Linked DNA regions of Homo sapiens: region 2 is linked to region 1. Evidence: promoter capture Hi-C in human tissues and cell types (Jung and others, 2019). All regions are on one chromosome and are shown on one strand. The core of a region is centred on a gene start or on the middle of the fragment in contact, and the rest is flanking DNA. Distances in the headings are between cores, read along the strand shown.

The links. Contacts are between HindIII fragments. The study calls those that stand out against the background at their distance.
Region 2: a fragment that was not itself captured here is called in contact with the fragment with the promoter of CCRL2 in region 1 in 4 of the 25 tissues and cell types used here (IMR-90 fibroblasts, aorta, lymphoblastoid cells and 1 more).

What each region holds. Positions count from the first base shown.
Region 1 is chr3:46,405,321-46,408,762 of GRCh38, forward strand. CCRL2 (C-C motif chemokine receptor like 2) reads left to right here and starts at 1,939. Exons shown (of 2, transcript NM_003965.5): 1 at 1,939-2,182; 2 at 2,748-3,442. The coding sequence starts at 2,760. It overlaps CCR5AS (CCR5 antisense RNA), which reads right to left and starts at 1,746. Exons shown (of 4, transcript NR_125406.2): 1 at 1,577-1,746. The HindIII fragment of the contact is 5,778 bases long and covers 1,575-3,442 here.
Region 2 is chr3:46,476,840-46,480,281 of GRCh38, forward strand. It overlaps a transcript of LTF not described here. Among named protein-coding and RNA genes, the nearest start is that of LTF, 14 kb to the left of the region's middle. RefSeq lists enhancers at 1,086-1,587, 1,588-2,087. The HindIII fragment of the contact is 7,156 bases long and covers 1-3,442 here.

The sequences.
Region 1 (3,442 bases), core at 689-3,188:
CTTGGGAAATTTCACATCTCACATGACTCTGTGACATGCGGTACATGAGGTGCCTGACTGCTGTTTTTGTCCTCTACTAATGAGGAAGAGTGTGCGTACTCCCAGCGTTTTGCAAGTTTCAAAGTCTGACTTGACTTTCCTTCCTTTTCCTGGAACTGATCCATGAGTATCGAGAGTAAAGCTGCCCGCACCTACTCATTCAAGATCCTGAGTGTCCTGCCCAGCTGCAGGAGGTGGAGAGACCCAGGAGGAGGGGCCACTGCTGATCCCAGGCTGTAGGGGGTGGGAAGAGTGTCCCAGGGCACCATGACCCCCACTCACTCACTCACAGGAGACCCACACAAGAGAGGAGAGGGCACTTACAGCTTAGGTTCCCACCAGCACCAACTCCTCTGCCATCAAACATCATTGTGTTTCTCTTTCTGCCTTGTCTGTCGGCACACGTGGAGTTAAATTTAATGCTCAATCACATATTTGTCTGGGCTCTTTCTGTGTTTATTTTTCTCTTAATAGTTCTCTCTCCTCCCTTCCTCTCCCCGCCCCTCCTCCTCCTTCTTCTTTTTTTTTTCCAGAGACAGTGTCTCGCTCTGCCACCCAGGCCAGAGTGCAGAGTGGCATGATCATGGCTCACCGCAGCCTCCAACTCCTGGGCTCACGTGAACATCCCACCTTGGCCTCTGGAATGTCTGGGATTACAGGCACTTGCCACTGCATCTGGCTAATTTTTATATTGTTTATAGATCCGGGATCTCACTATGTTGCCCAGGCTGGCCTCAAACTCCTGGGCTCAAGCGACCCTCCCACCTCATACTTCTGAGTAGCTGGGGCTGTAGGAATGCGCCTCAGTGCCAGGCTAGTTTCTTAATTTTCTATTTCTATTTTGACAGGTACAAATTTTGTATTCAATCCTACCTCAGACACATCTTTGGTGGGAAAAGGATGTCATTTAATCAATATATAAATTCTAAGCAAATAGGTCTGATCCCCAAATTAGGTTAGTCACAGCTGCTGAGTCGTTGACCCAAGAGAAGCTCATCTAGATTTTTTCATTATTTTCAAGTTCCTCTTCTCGGTTCGTCCTTCTTCCAGACCGTGCCCTCCCCGTCCCACTCTCTTCCCACAGCCTCCCCTCCCCACAGCCTCCTCCCACCATTCCAAATCTGGGCTGTTCTCTCAATTTCCTTCTCTCTGGACTCAAACCTACCCTAGCCCCCAGCCTCAGTTTGGGGTTAAACTTGTCCTCCTCACATTCTCTCCCACCCAACTTGATGTCGCCTCTGTGTCATCACCACGGGATTTTCCTCCTCTGGGTTCTCCTTTTCCGAGTGGGGTCAGCTCCCCCATGAGTCACAGCACCAATCACTTCTGGCTGCTTGCAAACCCCTTTGCTTTCCTCAGTGTTGACACCCAGGGCAGCCCTATGCTCACTGCCGCTGAGACCCCACCTCTGCCCCTGGCCTTTTCCCAGCTGACATCACCCTGTGGCTTCCATTTTCCTAAAATTCTCTTTTGAGGCCTCAGTCTTAACCAAAGCACACAGTGCCCCTCAAAAATGACAATAAAAACCCAAACACACCGTGACTGTCATGGCAGGTTCCTGGTCCCCGTATTGAATCAGCGGGTGGGTTTCTGCGAACACTGGTGAGAGGCCGCATTAGAGGGTCAGGACCCTCAGGTCTGGACTCGTGGTCACCACATACCTTCCTCCCTGCTGACAGTAGCTGGTACCTGTTACCTACTCAGAGTGTCACATGCCACAAGCCAGAGCGTCTTGGCAGTTCTCAGCACCTTGACATCACTTCCTTGCTACCACTCAGAGCGGCAGTGACACAGTTCCCTTATCTCAGAAGGCCAGAAGACGGCTGTCAAAGGTCACAGGGAAATCAAAGGCGGGGTACAGGGCCAGAGGGAGGAGGAAACAACTTCCCGGTTGCTTTCAGACGCTTCAGAGATCCTCTGGAGGCCTGGGGGAGCTTTTGAGTACTTTATTTCAGTTGGTCCCTGAGCTCGGTGAGTGGGGCGGGTAGAGCCACCAGGGGAATCAACAGTGGTTTCTCGTGCCCCTCAGGGTCAGGAGCAGTCTGATCAAAAGGAGGGCATCCACTGTCCGGGGCCATTCCCACAGCTCCCGGATGCTGGGTCTGGAGGCTGCGCCCTTCCCCTGCAGGAGCTCAGCCCAGTGGTAAGTCATCTGTGTGTCATCTATGTATTTAACCCCTTATGGCCATGTTGATGCTGAGCATGGTTTCACTTTTGCAAACATTTATTTATACCCTTCGAGAGAAAAACGTCTCAGCTGTCACAGGAAGCTGCTTCGGGGGGTGAGCAAACTTTTTAAAATGCAGAAATTATGATCTACACCCGTTTCTTAAAAGTAAGCCATCGTACTTGGTTCTCTTTAATTATATATTTTCTTACATATTGTGTTCATGTAGGCAAGTCCTGTTTCTGCTAAAAGAAGGTAAGTTCTACCAAGGCGGTGTCATGCCAGCTTTATTTCCCGTGGCACCTGGCACACTGCTAAGCACTTACATGCTTAACAACTAGATTGGGAATGGTGCTGCTCTGGGGAAGTGGGCACACGTTAAAGAAATGTTTATTTCAGTCTTCTGAAATAGGGAATTACTCTGGCTAAAATGTAGCTCCAGAAAGGGAAAGTGGGGCTGTATGAATCCAGGTCCAGTTTGTTGTTTCCTCCAGGATAAGGCAGCTGTCGGAGGGGAAAATCATCTCCCATTTCTCCACAGGGCAGTCTGAAGATGGCCAATTACACGCTGGCACCAGAGGATGAATATGATGTCCTCATAGAAGGTGAACTGGAGAGCGATGAGGCAGAGCAATGTGACAAGTATGACGCCCAGGCACTCTCAGCCCAGCTGGTGCCATCACTCTGCTCTGCTGTGTTTGTGATCGGTGTCCTGGACAATCTCCTGGTTGTGCTTATCCTGGTAAAATATAAAGGACTCAAACGCGTGGAAAATATCTATCTTCTAAACTTGGCAGTTTCTAACTTGTGTTTCTTGCTTACCCTGCCCTTCTGGGCTCATGCTGGGGGCGATCCCATGTGTAAAATTCTCATTGGACTGTACTTCGTGGGCCTGTACAGTGAGACATTTTTCAATTGCCTTCTGACTGTGCAAAGGTACCTAGTGTTTTTGCACAAGGGAAACTTTTTCTCAGCCAGGAGGAGGGTGCCCTGTGGCATCATTACAAGTGTCCTGGCATGGGTAACAGCCATTCTGGCCACTTTGCCTGAATTCGTGGTTTATAAACCTCAGATGGAAGACCAGAAATACAAGTGTGCATTTAGCAGAACTCCCTTCCTGCCAGCTGATGAGACATTCTGGAAGCATTTTCTGACTTTAAAAATGAACATTTCGGTTCTTGTCCTCCCCCTATTTATTTTTACATTTCTCTATGTGCAAATGAGAAAAACACTAAG
Region 2 (3,442 bases), core at 637-3,136, 71 kb after region 1:
TTCTCCAATGTTGTTCCATAAAGAAATAGCTCTTACATGCTCACTTCTGTATAATCTTTATGTATGTGAGTGTACCAAAGTTACCTGTCTATTCTATTGGTAATAGATATTTTGGTCGTTTCTAACTTGGGGTTATTACAATGGTGCTGAAGCGAACATATGTATTCTTTTCTGTTGGTCATGTACTTAGGAATGGAGTTTTACAGCATATGACTACGTTCTGCTTTAGAAAATTCTGCTAGTTTTCCAAAGTTAATTGTAGCAATTCATATTCCCACCAATGTATATGAGAGTTCTAGGGGCTTCACATCCTTGCCAACACTGCCATTGTCTGTCTTTTTCATTTCAGCCACTCTGTTTGGGAATGTCTTTTGTCCATTGTTTGATTATTTGGTAAGGCTTTTTCTCATTGGCGGATAGTTCTTTCAATATTCTTCAGAGTCACCATTTCCCTCCACTTGCCTCTGTGAGGGAGCCCAGGGCTCCTCCTCCCTCAGCTCTTCTAAGCCCAGATGAAGCCTGGCCCTTCTGAGCACATCCCAAGGCCACACCTGCATTCTAGGCGACTCCCTTGTCCCTTTGATTCACTGGGTAGTCTGGTGCCTGAAAGGCAGGGTCAGTGATGAGAGTGGTTAAACATCGCAGGCAGGGGAGTTTGAAACCAGCTCTACCTCTTCCCCACTCCCCAGATCTAGCCACGTCATTCAGCCTGTCTCAGCTTCAGTGTCCCCATGTGAAAATAGGAATACTAAAAGCATCTCCCTCATAAAATTGTTAGAACTTAATGAAGTAACTTATAAAGATGCTTAGAACAGTGCCCAGCACATAGGGGCTGCTCAATCGATATTTTTTGAACGAAGGAATGGGTGTGTGAATTAATAAATGAATGGATGTAAGATTTTCAGTACAAGGCCAAACCATACAGTGAAAACTCAGTCAATATTAACTATTATTGTTATTGTTTCCATGCATTTCTGGTCCCCGTTGTGAGCCAGAACCTATGCAGAGTCCTGGGAATCTGCAAAGAGTTCCCTTTCCCCAGGCGGCTCCAGTTGAGTCACAATCCAACAGAAGGTGTTAGCAAAGGCAAGTTCACCCTACAGGGAGGACAGAGGGCCGAGCGGGAGCCACTTTCCCCAGTCTTCCTTCTCAAGCTAACCCAGCAGCGTGCCCCAGCCCTTTTACAGACATCTGTCTTTGTGATTCCTTGGGCCCCTCTCCACACCCACACTCCTTATGCCCACATTCTGTCCTGTTATCTGCAACCCTTTGTAACTCTTTCACTCCTCTCTCTTTTATGACGTCCACTTCTCTCTCCAGTTCTCTGTCTCTCTCACCATCATGCCCTCTTCCCGCCCCACTGCCCTGAGACTTTTCCTAATGGCCCCTCTCAGCAGCCTGGGCAGCCTCCTTGAATTTCTGCTCACCAGTAACCCAGCTGCGTCCCGACTGTCAGTCTTGGCTTTGCTCCACACATCTTCTCTCTCCCCCTCCAAGGGTCTCTGGGCTACAAGGGAAGCTTTCCCAGAACCCATGTGGCCACTCAGTCACTTCCCCAGAGGCTGAAGGTCGCTATGTTGGTGACAAAGGGCAGGTGACACACTTTGCTCTCCACAGTGCTATCAGCAGGCATGAGCAGGGTCCCTAGAGAGTGCCAGGGACCAAAGGGTGAGGCCAGGTCCACCCCGCTCTTAACCATCACTCCCCATCTTCCTGGACAGTGCAGCTGGATGAGGAAGCAGCCGCAGGATGCAACGTAGATGCTAGAGGGCCAAGGGGAGGACAGAAGAGGGTAGGGCAGAAGATGACTGGCAGAATGAGGAACTAGTGGGTGGGCCTGGGGACCTCGTAGATGAAGCAGAACCTGATGGCTATTTGGAAATGGAGGAAAGAGTCACAAAAGTGAGCAATTTCCAGGATATTTGGAAATATTCTGGCTTGAGGTTACTACCTTGAAATAATTTGACCAAGAAAATCAGACACTCTCAGAAAATAATATTTTTTATGCCATTTTACAAATGAGGTCTCTAAGCCCAGAGAGGGCGTGTGGCCTGCTCAGACCTGACACAGTGCGGCCAGGTAGAATCCAGCTTCCTGACTCCTTGCACTTAGAGGGGTTCCCTCAACTAAAGCCATCCTCACAGAGCATTTATCCTGGACCAGGTCCTTGTTAGGTACTGGGTCACCAAACTGAGTTAGACTCAGTTCTGCCCCCAAGGGCAACAGACAAGGGAATAGTCAGTTACCACCATAGGAGATGAGAATGTCCATGGACCACGGTAACAGAAGAAGCATGGAGAACCACGCCTGTGCCCAAGGCTCTGTGCGTGGTAGGGAATCTGCCTCCCACCTGTGGCAGCTCTGGAGGAGGGGCAGCCTGACCTGTGACAGGCAGGGAAAACCCCATAGCCCCCTCTCTCCCACCCTGGCATCTTCCAGCAACCTCCACAAAGTGGGTTTGGCCGGAACCAAGTGATTGAGGGGGAGATTACAGGGCCCGGGAATTGTGGGGCCCTGTGGGTACCTAGAAGACCATCTGCTTTTACTCTGAGGATGTAGGAGCCAAGGCAGAAGGCTGAGAATGGACTGAGAGGCAGAACAAGTGGGGAGCAGAGAGATGATTAGGGAGGCTCCAGCAGTGACCTGGGAGAGAGATGAAGTGGCTTTTCTGTTTGTTTGTTTGTTTGTTTGTTTGTTTGTTTGTGACAGAGTCTCGCTCTGTCACCCAGTCTGAAGTGCAGTGGCACGATCTCAACTCACTCCAACCTCTGCCTCCAGGGTTCAAGCGATTCTCCTGCCTCAGCCTCCCAAGTAGCAGGGATTACAGGCAAGTGCCACCACCCCTGGCTAATTTTTGTATTTTTAGTAGAGACGGGGTTTCACCATGGCTGGTTTCTAGGCTGGTCTCGAACTCCTGACTTCAAGTGATCTACCCACCTCAGCCTCCCAAAATGCTGGGATTACAGGCGTGAGCCACTGCGCCCGGCCAGAAGTGGCTTTGATTAGGATGTGGCAGTGGAGAAATAGTGAGATGGCTGGATTCTTGACATATTTTAAAGGAGGAGGTCATGGGATTTGCTTACATTACAAGGGGATGTGGGGTGTGAAGGAGAGAGGTGGATGATGGCACCAAGGTGTTTGGCCTGAGAAACTAAAAGGAGGTAGTTTCATTAACTGAGATGGGGAAGACTGGGAATAAAGCAGATTGAGGAGGAGGTGGATCAGAAGCTCCATTCTAATCATGGTAAGACTGACAGACCCCGGACACCCAGGTGGATCGTGGAAGAGCCAGCTCCCTGACTCGCTGCCATTCAGAATGGCATTGTTGCTATAAAAGCCAAAGTTAGAGGCCTTGAACTTTATTTAAAACTAATTTTTGGACCATGGGCTCATTTTCCTCCAAGAACAATGCCTATTCACACAAATTGCTGTGTCCAGCTCC